Regions from separate parts of the Homo sapiens genome. Here regions 1, 2 and 3 are each linked to region 4. The links are contacts of gene promoters, found by promoter capture Hi-C in blood cells and fetal thymus (Javierre and others, 2016). All regions are on one chromosome and are shown on one strand. Each heading gives the region's core, a stretch centred on a gene start or on the middle of the fragment in contact. The rest is flanking DNA. Distances are from core to core; before and after follow the strand shown.

Region 1 (2,700 bases), core at 71-2,570, 140 kb after region 4:
GCCTACCCCTGCCCCACTGGCCTCCTCGCTGCCACCACCTCCAGGGCCTCCACCGCTGCTCCCGGTACCGTTGGCATAGCTGTCCCGGTCAGGCATCCTGGTCCCGCCCAACTCAGGGTTTTCTTTATCTTGCCACTCTTGGTGACCACTACAAAAGAGGAGAACTGTATCAAACAGGAGTCCTCCAGGGAGATCCCACTCTTCCTGACTATAAAGCAGGTGGCCCAGAGGGGCAATGGCTTTAGAGATGGAGAATCTAAGGGATAAGAATTCTGGCTGAAATGTCTGACTCATCAAAAGCCCCTCCCAGGGTTTTGTGCACCTGGTCTGGGTCAGAATGATTCACACTTGCCTGGCTAACGGAGGAGGGATAGGCCCAGGACGGAGCAGGGAAAAAATAGTGTTGGAATTCATCTTTCCTTTTGAGCTGACCTTATTAAAGTTGTGGAAGTGAAATTAAAACTGCAGTCAGTATCTGAATAGTCTGGAAGGAAACTGGGAATAGTGCCCAAGATGGGCTACTGAGCTACTAGGGCTGTAGAAGATGGGACACTGGTAACAAAACTTCCTTAACCCCCTTTCCTTTTCCTCAGGTAAGGGCTCTGTACACATCAAATCTCTAGAAGCCAAGAAATCCTGGGTGAAGAGACTGGTGTCACCAGCTTGAGGGGAGTCTCAAAACCTGTCATATTTTAGTATTCCCTCCCAGCCATCATCACTGTCAACGGCAGAGAGGTAAGCCCCTTCTATTTCAGGATAGGAGTTCTAAGTTAGAGTCTCCACTTCTAGATTTCCTAGGACAAACCATTTGTGATAAGGTCAAGTGGGAAGGAGTTAATTTCACAGGAACAAGTGACCTTTCCCCATTCCCCACCCCCTTCCTACTCCCCTATGTGAAGATCCCACTGACATCCAACCACACCATTCCTCAACCCAGAAAGATCCTCTTTATTTATAGACTCCATAAAAGCTTTTTAAGTCTCCTATTTCCCAAGAGAGCTTTGGAATGTCAGTCCACTGCCCTGGTTCTAGCCCTCCCCTCTCTCCACCCCCAGTAAGACCTGGAGTCCCTGCTACCACGTGTCTGACCTCCCAAGCCTTTCCTATGCGGTGTTCAGGCTCCCCCTGCTGCTGAAATAGGAAAACTTCATATTGTTCCCTTTGAGAATAAGGGAATCTTTCCTAATTCCTTTGGCCTTGACCTACCCCCACCCCACTACTGTGACTTTGCCTTCAGATCTCCCTAAAATGAACTAACCAAACCAGAGGCCAGAGTTACAAGAGAATCTGTAAGAGGGTCCTCCTCCTCTAAAGAGAGGTAGTCCCAGAATAATAGAAGCAATCAAGGAAAGAAGTGGTAAAAGAAGATACAAACTTTTAGTAAAGGGGAATGACCAGGTGAAGTACAAATGCCATCTATCCAAGCCTGGCTCACGTTGCAAGTCGCACCAGCAGCAGATAATTAGTTATGATGCTCCTCCCCACCCCACTCTCCCAGAATTGATACCTGAGGTAGCTCAGGTGAAGTCCGGGGCTCCTGTGGGTCTCCACCTCCACATCACTGCTGGGTTCTGAGCAGGAAAAAAACAGAGACTTGGGTGGAAGAAGGAGTAAGAGTGGAGGACTATGGGGTGGTTGTCACAAGAAATCTGACAAAACGGCAAAGCTTCGAGAACGTGAGGATTTCCTCAGGGTTCAAACTGAACTTCACCTGTCCAAGGGAGAAGTTGCCAGTAAGAAGAGTAAAACTAATTCGGAGGGACTGGGAGGAGGGGTTGGAAAACCAGCCCTGAGTGAACAAAGAGTGCGGGGCGCCCTGCCTCAAGATGAAAGAGGATGTGAGGGTCAGAGCACCGCCAAGGGCTGGAGTTAGTAATGGCTAGTGAGGAACCTCAAAAAGGCAGCGTCTGACAGTGCATTGGGATGGCCGATTAGACTTGAAGGCAGTGATTGTGACGCTTCCCAACACCCTAGAGTTTGCGAAAGAAGTCCTAGGAGTTTTCCCGCAGCAAGTCTTCTAGCTTGGCAGGTTCCGTGCAGTGCCGCCGGCGCTCAGCCGTGGGCTACGTGAATGGGACACTAAGGGCGCGCGAAGTGAAGCGGGGAGCTGGAGCTCCAGGTGTCATCAAGCTGAGGGGATGGGCAGGGTTGTGACGTCACGAAGCTGGCGTTTGCTCGCGATGCGGGGTCACTCAGAAAAGGGGCACTGCCCTGGGGTGTGAGGACGAGCCAGCTCGGTTCTGGGGGGCCTTCTGTGGCCTGGCCGAGCCCAGCCGCTGGGCCGGCCCCGACTCCTCCCCTCCGGGCGCGGCCTCCACCTAAGTCTCCCGCCTCCCTCACCTGCCGCCGCCGCCGTAGTTGCTGCTGCCGCCTGCCGGTCCTCTAGCTTCGACAAAGAGCCGCCTACCCGATCGCTCTTCCGCTTCCTGCGGAAGAAGTGACGCTCTAGCCAGCAGACCCGGAACCATACTCTATGGTGTATGAAGTACGCGTGCGACATGCCGCAGGGCGTTCCCAGCACGCTTTGCGTGTCACTATGGCAACCCAACCCAAAGGCACGACATGGTCTAAGCGGTAGTCGCCAAGGCAGCCCTCCTGGAAAGGGGCGGTACCAGCATTGGCCCCTAATAACCCGCGAAACCTAAAACCTGCCTCCAGAGACGTACCATATCCCATCCAACTCCAGCGAGATGCAAACCA
Region 2 (2,700 bases), core at 156-2,655, 230 kb before region 4:
TTATTTGGAAAAATAGAGAAAATGCATGTTAGGCATCGTAAATGGACCAGTGTGATGATATGTTTTTTAATAGGCTTATATTTATATTTTTTCAGTCCTATAAATGTTCATTTTGTTATTGCTAAACCAAAGAAGAATTAGGAAAGCACACTGGAGTAGATCACAGACACGCTTAAACTTTTATTAAATTTCATTTACTCCATGAAAGTCTAGCATCAAGTTAAAACATGCATCCCATACCTACATCCTCAGTTTCATTGGTCCCCATTCTTTTTTTTTTTTTTTTTTTTTTTTTTGAGATGGAGTCTCGCTGTCACCCAGGCTGGAGTGCAGTGGCGCGATCTTGGCTCACTGCAACCTCTGCCTCCCAGGTTCAACTGATTCTCCTGCCTCAGCCTCCTGAGTAGCTGAGATTACAGGTGCATGCCACCACGCCTGGCTAATTTTTGTATTTTCAGTAGAGATGGGGTTTCACCGTGTTGGTCAGGCTGGTCTCGAACTCCTGACCTTGTGATCTGCCCACCTCAGTCTCCCAAAGTGCTGGGATTACAGGCATAAGCCACCACGCCCGGCTGGTCCACATTCTTATACCCACGTTTCATTCCAACCAAACTAGAGGTAGAGTCCCTCAAATGTTCCTCTCAGGCTATGTTTATTCTTGTAGAGCCCTCTGTCTGAAACACCTCTCGTGCTTTAAAAACCAGCTCCTGTCAGTCACCATTCCTCTTCTATCCCAGTGGCCCTTCACCCCCAGCTTAGTTAGATGTCCCCTTTATACTTTCTTCTGCATGTCTCTACATCACAGCATTTTTCATTAGGAATTTTAAACATAAGCTTTCTCATTTCTCCCAGTAGAAACTGGTTTATTAAATTTTTAAATTTCTGGATTTTCCAGCACTGGACCTGGCACACTGAATGCCAACAAATAAATATTAATTGAGTGAATGGAAGCTCATTATGTCAGAGCCCCAAGTACTTACATTTTACCCAGTAAAATACAAGTTTATCTTTTACAAATGGAGAAACTAAGGCAGAAAGGAGTTTGTAACAATAGTATCATTAACAAAGATTAATAAAAAAATGAACTAATCTTTTACTTGGACCAATTAACATCCTAGCTACAGTCTAAAGAGTAGAACAGGCCAGGTGCGGTGGCTCACACCTGCAATCCTAGCACTTTGAGAGGCTGAGGCGGGCAAATCAAGGGGTCAGGAGTTCGAGACCAGCCTGGCCAACATAGTGAAACTCCGTCACTACTAAAAATACGAAAATTAGCCGAGCATATTGGCGGGTGCCTGTAATCCCAGCTATTCGGAAGGCTGAGGCAGGAGAATTGCTTGAACCCGGGAGGCGGATGTTGCAGTGAGCCAAGATCACACCATTGCACTCCAGCATGGACGACAGAGCGAGACTCCATCACACACACACACACACACACACACACACACACACACAAAATAGAGTAGAACAAATGAGTCTCTAAATCATAAGAAATAAACAAACTCCAAACATCAATTTCCTATCACAGAGGATTAGCTTTTCCTTCTTTCTTTCTTTTCTTTTTTTTTTTTTGTTTGAGACGGAGTTTTGCTCTTGTTGCCCGGGCTGGAGTGCAATGGCGTGATCTCAGCTCACCGCAACCTCCGCCTCCCAGATTCAAGCAATTCTCCTGCCTCAGCCTCCTGAGCAGCTGGGATTACAGGCATGAGCCACCGCGCCCGGCCCGGATTTAGCTTTTATTAAGGATTCAAAATCATTAAGTCTAATCCTCTCTCACATACCACAAAACTCTGGCACAGCCATGGACTAACCTAAAAGCCCACTGTTAGAGACACAAAGAACTTTCTTTCAGTTATGAAAATCTTCATTTCTAGCTGCCCTTGTCATAGTTGGCTAATAGTTTTGCACAAATTAAACTAGATGATGAGTATTTTTCAAATTAGAAACAAAAAGAGGACCTGACCCTGCCAAGCTTTAACCACCTGGGACAACAAACTTGTTCTTCTCCAGCATCTTATACTTTACACAGTACCATTGGCCTCCCAAGTCACCAGTTCATGCTCCATCCTCATGCAAAGACAGCAATATTGTATTGGAGACAGTTAGTCCAAAGGTCCAAGTGCAGCTGGAGCTAGTTCTCTAAGCAAAGAACCTCTGCTTCCATGCATAGATCTTCTTCACTACCCAACCAGTTCCTATTAGTGGAAGAGTGCTGGGAGAAAGAGAGTAAGGAACTCATTAGAGTATAAAGCTAATTCAAAGAGGCAGAAATAGGAAAAAAAGGAAGCAAATTACTTCTGGGTAATGTTTAGAAATTCCCTAACAGATGGTATTTTTCTCTTGAATAGATCAAAACGTTTCAGATAAATCATATTTCTATGAAACAAGGATAAGATTCGTCTGTTACGTATGAAAAAAACTAATGCAGGATTGAGTTTACGTTAAGTATTGAGACCCAGAACTCTGCCTCTTGGGCAAAGCCAAGCATAAAGCAGCAAGCCCTCCCAGAATTAGACGGCTTTCCACGGACAGGAGAACAGATACAGCAGACACAGAATGACTACAGAAGGCGAAAACAAGCAAAAACAAATGTCACTCCATCTGGTTTTAAGCCAAATAAGCCCTCCAACCCTAACCAAGGCAAAGGAGAACTGCCTTTCCACAGAACACACCTGACTGGTTTCAGTACTTGTTTTCCCA
Region 3 (2,700 bases), core at 201-2,700, 160 kb after region 4:
GCTCCGGCGGGAAGGCGGAGCCGTTGGGGAGCTTGAGGGGAAGCGTGGTCTCTCCCGGAAAAACCACTTCCACCGAGAACGCTGAGCGAGAGCCAGTAACAGAGAGGGGCGGGCTGAGGGGAGAGGGGCGGAGCTACGGCGGGGAAATAGGTTTAAAGTCGAGCGGGCAGGGGTGGAGTAGAGTGGAGCCGCAGCGGGTGGGCAGTGTCTACACCTAGGTCGGGGAGGCTGGGTGCGCCCTTCTTCGGATCCCTGGGTCGGCTGGCGAAACCCGCCCAGCCGGTCCAGTCGTCCTCCGAAGCTGGGAGAACAGGGAGGGGCAGACAGGTGGAAGAAGACCAAGGGTGCTGGTAACGGGGGCTAACTGGGCAGCCAGACACCGGAGGGATCATCCATTTAAAGGCCTCGCAATCTAGAGGCCGGACTCCTAATGAAGTAACATGACTTTATTGTTCCAATAACAGGCACCTGGATGGAGCACCTAAGGGAAGTGTTCAGAAAGACATGTTTGTTGAGAGTTCTTACCGTGAAAAAATAAAAAGATTTGATGACTTTTCTAAGATAATGAATTCAGAAGCATCTGGAGGTTTCAGTGTTTGGCCTCTGAAGGAGGGCTTATAGGGCTTTTTATAAGTCCTAAAGCACGTAGGTTCTTTTTGTTATTCCCAATTGGTTGCCTTGTAGATTCCTACTAAAACCCTTAATGAAAAGGACTATGCGCTATGGTTGTTCTAAAGAAATAGAAGTAATAGTAGGACTAGAGAAAGCTGCATGGGACAGAGTAGCACTGTCAGAACACAGAAAGGTGAGTATCCACTGCTGAGGAGCAGATCTCTTATCTAACATACGAAATGTCTTCATTTGACAGACAGGAAGCTGAAAAAAAACTTTGGCATTTTTATTCAGACACGTATAAAAACAAAACAAAAAACTTCAGTGATACAACAGACGTTTTCCCTTAGTTCCCCATCCAAGGGGACAGAGGTGTGCAGCTGAAGCTGGATCTTTTTTCTGTCCTACCTGGAAGCTTCTCACTGCTGGATGAGAATGGCTTCTAAAAGTGGATCTTGGGGATCCTTGTGAATTTGCCCTCGGATAAGGAGTGAAGATCATTTACGGCACATGTGGATTATGGTTTACACAAAGATGTCCAGTTATTTTTCCTTCTGACTACCCCCACCACCACTTCCTGAGATGAGATGTCTAGGTATAGGAGGATGTGGCTGTTGGGGTTAGACTTGATTCAGTGCAAAAACAAGAAACAGTGCCCCTTAAACAAGGGCTGTAACTTAAATCAGTTTTTCTTGGCACCTTACAATAAGAGCACATGCACAGGAATTGGGAGGATTTTGCATCCTGGATCTACTGCTTAATTTATTTCATCTCTTTAAGGCTCAGTTTCTTTTTTTTTTTTCCCCTGTAGAGACAGTGTCTTGCTATGTTTCCATAGGCTTATCTCTAATTCTGGGCTCAAGTGATCTTCCCATCTCAGCCTCCCAAAGTGCTGGCTGGGATTACAGGCATGAGCCACTGCACCCAGTTCTAAAGTTTTTTTTTTTTTTTTTTTTTTTTTTTTAAAGAGATGGGGGTCTTACTATGTTGGCTAAGCTGGTCTCAAACTCCTTGCCTCAGGTAATCCTTCTGCCTCAGCCTCCCAAAGTGCTGAGATTACAGGCATGAGCCACCATGCCCGACTTCCCTTTGTGTAAAATGAGATAATATGTATGTCACAGAATTGTTTTAAGGATGATAAAGGACTAAGTGAGATAATGTAGGTGAAGTTTAGTATGATGCCTGGCTCATAGTTAAGTGCTGAATTATGATAGTAATCAATATCTACTCCTAACCTCTTTCTTCACAGATTTTAAGCTTCTGTCTTTCTAGGGGGTTAAGAGTCATAAACCAAAATTACACTTTCCTCTGCTAGGTTTCCTCCCTTTCCTCTTCTTGACAGTCTGATGGGAAACAAAGGCACACATAAGAGCCTAGTTCCAAGTAGTCAAGAGCCTGAGAGGAAGGGATATGGAGAGTAATCCTTCATATCTCCAGGAGTGCCTGTGAAGAAGCTGAGGAATGGGACTGGGAAAGCACACAAAATAAGGAAAACCTTTCCTGGGGTTGGGAAAGAGAAGAAAGTGCACAGCTGGCTACATACCATAAGAATTTTGTGTCAAAATGTTTAAAAGCCTCCAAAGATTGAATGGAATTGTCTGGGACTGGGGAAAAGGGGCTGGGACCTGGGAGAGAGAGGGAATAGGGAGAAGACGGTACCCTCTAAAGGCACTAGCTGCCATTAAATGCTCCCTGAGTGCCACAGGGAGCAGGAGTTACGTTCTCTGGGCATTAGCCTTGGGGAAAAGCCTGCTATGCCAGTAATCAGGGTTATCAAAGGCAGAGTCTGTAGCCTCTAAGCTACGTAGAGTTTTTAGGCGGGCATAATGGACATGGGGGGCCTGATGTCCAGGCCCCTGAAAAGCTCTCATCTCTTCATACCCTTGCTCAGATGCTGGGCAGGCCCCCATGGCTGCATAATCACCCCCAGGACCACCTCCATCTCGTTGCCGATTCATATATTCATAGTCTTCATCTGGAGTTGTGCCTGCAGTGGGCATGATGGGTACAGGGTGGAGTGGGCAACTCTGTGTGCTGCCCAGAGAGGCACTGAGGTCTGACCCCACATCCATGTACTCATAACCCAGC
Region 4 (2,700 bases), core at 65-2,564:
GTGAGCCACCGCGCCCGGCCGGGAAGGCTTTTTTGAAATGTATTTTCGCCGGGTGCGGTGGCTCACGCCGGTAATCCCAGCTCTTTGGGATGCCGTGGCAGGTGGATCACCTGAGGTCAGGAGTTCGAGACCAGCCTGACCAACATGGTGAAACCCCCGTCTCTACTAAAATAAAAAATTAGCCGGGCAGGGTGGCGGGCGCCTGTAGTCTCAGCTACTTGGTAGTCTGAGACAGGATAATCACTGAACCCGGGAGGCGGAGGTTGCAGTGAGCCGAGATCGTGCCACTGCACTCCAGCCTGGGGGACGAGAGTGAAACTCCATCTCAAAAAATAAAATAAAATGTATTTTTATTTTTTAATTTTTTTCCTCTCCCCTCAAGGGAGGATTTTTATATATAAAGCCTTGACAGGACGCCAGCATGCTGCACTTCGTCCATTTCGTGTTCTCTTCAATGTGTATTGAGTTGTGAAACTCTGAACAGGACCCTGGATCACCTTTTATAAATTGTATCAATTTTTCAATCTCCACTTTTCGTCTTCCTCCTTTTTCCGTTTCTGGGTTGAGATGACCTCCATTCATTTCTTCTCTAATTGACGGCTCTCTGGCCTCTCCATTGGAGGAGGGGAAGCGCCACAGGCTGTTCTGGGGAGAAATTGTTGAGTGTTTTCCACTTTAACCTTGCAATGGAATCAGTAAGGAGTTGGAAAATGCCCCTTCTGTTGGTCTTGGCGGCCTTTTCCAGCTGCCAGTTGTCATGGCCTCTTTGTGGGTGTTTTCTGCAGTAGAATCCTCCTTGGGGTTTCTCTGCAGTTTGAGCACTTTTGCTATTTCTTCTCTACCGAACTCACGCCTCCGCCAGTGGAGATACACGCTTTCCCTCCCTCTGGGGCTATTGCCATACATAATTCCCAGTTCTCCACCCGCCAGTTCCTCCTAGTCTGTGGGGGATTTCGGGGTGTGGAATCGCTGACGGGAGGAGTTAGCTCGGGCGGGAGCATTGTGGGCTGGGTAAGATCTGGCCAGCCGTTCGGTCCTCAGTTTGGGAAGCACCGCGGGACTAAGGCCCAGGTTTCCGCTAGGGTCTTGTGGGGAACCCCTTGGGCCGCCAGACTGGAGCGGAGAGCACAGCGCGGCCAGCTGCGTGAGCCGGGGAGCCGGCGCGCGAGTTCGGGGGTGCAGGGGCTGCTGGGGCCGCCAGGGTGGGGCGGAGGGCGCTGCGGCCGGGGTCCGTTTGCGCGGGGAGCGCCGGGACCAGGACGGCCGCCAGGGAGCGCTGCGGCCTCCAACTCGCCCGCCCCCCGGTAGGCGGGGCCGCGCTCTCCCTGCAGCCGCCACCGCAGCCGCCGCCTGGGCCGCTCCGTGTCCCCGGTGGAGCCGCCGCCGCCGCCGCCGGGAGCTCGATGCGGACGGAGCCCGGGCCGAGCCATGGGGATCCTCAGCATCACGGACCAGGTCAGCCCTCCTGCCCTTTCCCGCTTCCTCCTTCCAGGGCTCGGCGCTGCCGTCACGCGAGCCCGGGGATGTGCGGCCTAGGCTGGGCCTGAGCCCGGGGCTCCCGCAGCTCCCGCCCCGCCCCATGCCGCGCTCCCCTCAACCGAGCCGGTGTCCTTGGGGACCTGGCAACCGGCGGAGGCACCGCGGGAGCTCGCTCCAGCCAGAATCCCTAGAGTGGAGCCCCTCCACGGACGCCCCCCACTCAAACCTAGGTGCTCCCCCACCCCCACCCCCACACCGGTTCCGCTCCGGCTCCAGCCCGCTCTCAGAATGCCGGTTCTCTCTGCAGCCGCCCCTGGTCCAGGCCATCTTTAGCCGAGATGTGGAGGAAGTGCGTTCCCTACTCTCGCAGAAGGAGAACATCAATGTGCTGGTGAGTTGGGAGCAGGGAGGATGGCGAGACCGGAATCCTGGCTCCCGTGTTCTGGACCCCTCCCCACCGGTGGGGCGGCTCCGTGTCTCCTCTGCTCAGATGAGGCCGCAGTTCTTTCCATCCTGGAGTGAAAGCCTACTCTGCATTTGGGGATGGAGAGCAGGTCAGGCTTGAAGCCCAGATCACTTGGGCTGGGAATGCCCAGGAACGTTGTTCTCTTCTCAACCTCCGGAGTCTGCAGCGCCCCCACCCCTCCTGGAAAAAGGAGCCGGCTTCTCAGCCCATTGGCCCTGACTCCACCCTCCCTAGGTGCTTGCCTTTGACTCCCAATACCGGGACTTAGGACGCTGCAGAAACTATGGGAAGAGGTTGTGGGGAAGGGCCTGGAGCTCTGAGACTTGGGCTGGGGTCCTTGATAGCCCCCTTACCCCGCGCCCATACTCCCTGCTCTTTTTTGCCTTCCCAGGACCAAGAGAGGCGAACTCCATTGCATGCTGCTGCCTACGTAGGCGATGTCCCCATCCTCCAGTTGCTACTGATGTCAGGTGAAAGTGGGGAGCTGGAAGGTGTGGCACATAGGGAGCGAAGGGAGGGGAGGAGTCTTTTTTGATATTCAAGGATTGCTCTCCCCGGCTTGGTCCAGGCGAGGCTCCAGCTCCATTCAGATTTCCTGGCCTGATTACTGGCTTCCTTCATACCTCCTCCCCACCTTCCATCAAAATAGGAAATTATATCCCCACAGGTGCTAATGTCAATGCTAAGGACACACTGTGGCTGACCCCTCTTCATCGTGCTGCTGCCTCCCGAAACGAGGTATGCACCCCCACCTT

The links. Contacts are between HindIII fragments. The CHiCAGO score rates a contact against its expected background, and 5 or more counts as called.
Region 1: a fragment that was not itself captured here is called in contact with the fragment with the promoter of ANKRD52 in region 4 in 11 of 17 cell types (naive CD4 T cells, naive CD8 T cells, activated CD4 T cells and 8 more); the score reaches 11.5 in naive CD4 T cells.
Region 2: a fragment that was not itself captured here is called in contact with the fragment with the promoter of ANKRD52 in region 4 in 2 of 17 cell types (naive B cells and M1 macrophages); the score reaches 7.6 in naive B cells.
Region 3: a contact is called between a fragment that was not itself captured here and the fragment with the promoter of ANKRD52 in region 4, in 1 of 17 cell types (activated CD4 T cells). The highest score is 5.2, in activated CD4 T cells.

What each region holds. Positions count from the first base shown.
Region 1 is chr12:56,117,959-56,120,658 of GRCh38, reverse strand. ZC3H10 (zinc finger CCCH-type containing 10) reads right to left here and starts at 2,393. Exons shown (of 3, transcript NM_032786.3): 1 at 2,341-2,393; 2 at 1,508-1,571; 3 at 1-148. The coding sequence starts at 96. It overlaps RPL41 (ribosomal protein L41), which reads right to left. Exons shown (of 3, transcript NM_001035267.2): 3 at 2,692-2,700. RefSeq lists a silencer at 2,669-2,700. The HindIII fragment of the contact is 696 bases long and covers 973-1,668 here.
Region 2 is chr12:56,489,948-56,492,647 of GRCh38, reverse strand. No RefSeq gene overlaps it. Among named protein-coding and RNA genes, the nearest start is that of GLS2, 3.1 kb to the right of the region's middle. The HindIII fragment of the contact is 1,138 bases long and covers 837-1,974 here.
Region 3 is chr12:56,101,683-56,104,382 of GRCh38, reverse strand. It overlaps ERBB3 (erb-b2 receptor tyrosine kinase 3), which reads right to left. Exons shown (of 28, transcript NM_001982.4): 28 at 878-2,700. The coding sequence ends at 2,328. It overlaps LOC105369782 (a long non-coding RNA gene), which reads left to right. Exons shown (of 2, transcript XR_944995.4): 1 at 1-95; 2 at 465-569. Among named protein-coding and RNA genes, the nearest start is that of PA2G4, 1.5 kb to the left of the region's middle. RefSeq lists an enhancer at 1-129. The HindIII fragment of the contact is 842 bases long and covers 1,030-1,871 here.
Region 4 is chr12:56,256,998-56,259,697 of GRCh38, reverse strand. It overlaps ANKRD52 (ankyrin repeat domain 52), which reads left to right and starts at 1,314. Exons shown (of 28, transcript NM_173595.4): 1 at 1,314-1,455; 2 at 1,787-1,870; 3 at 2,337-2,415; 4 at 2,613-2,683. The coding sequence starts at 1,429. RefSeq lists silencers at 1,056-1,115, 1,126-1,675, 1,696-1,765 and enhancers at 1,826-1,875, 1,956-2,005, 2,312-2,700. The HindIII fragment of the contact is 14,479 bases long and covers 1-2,700 here.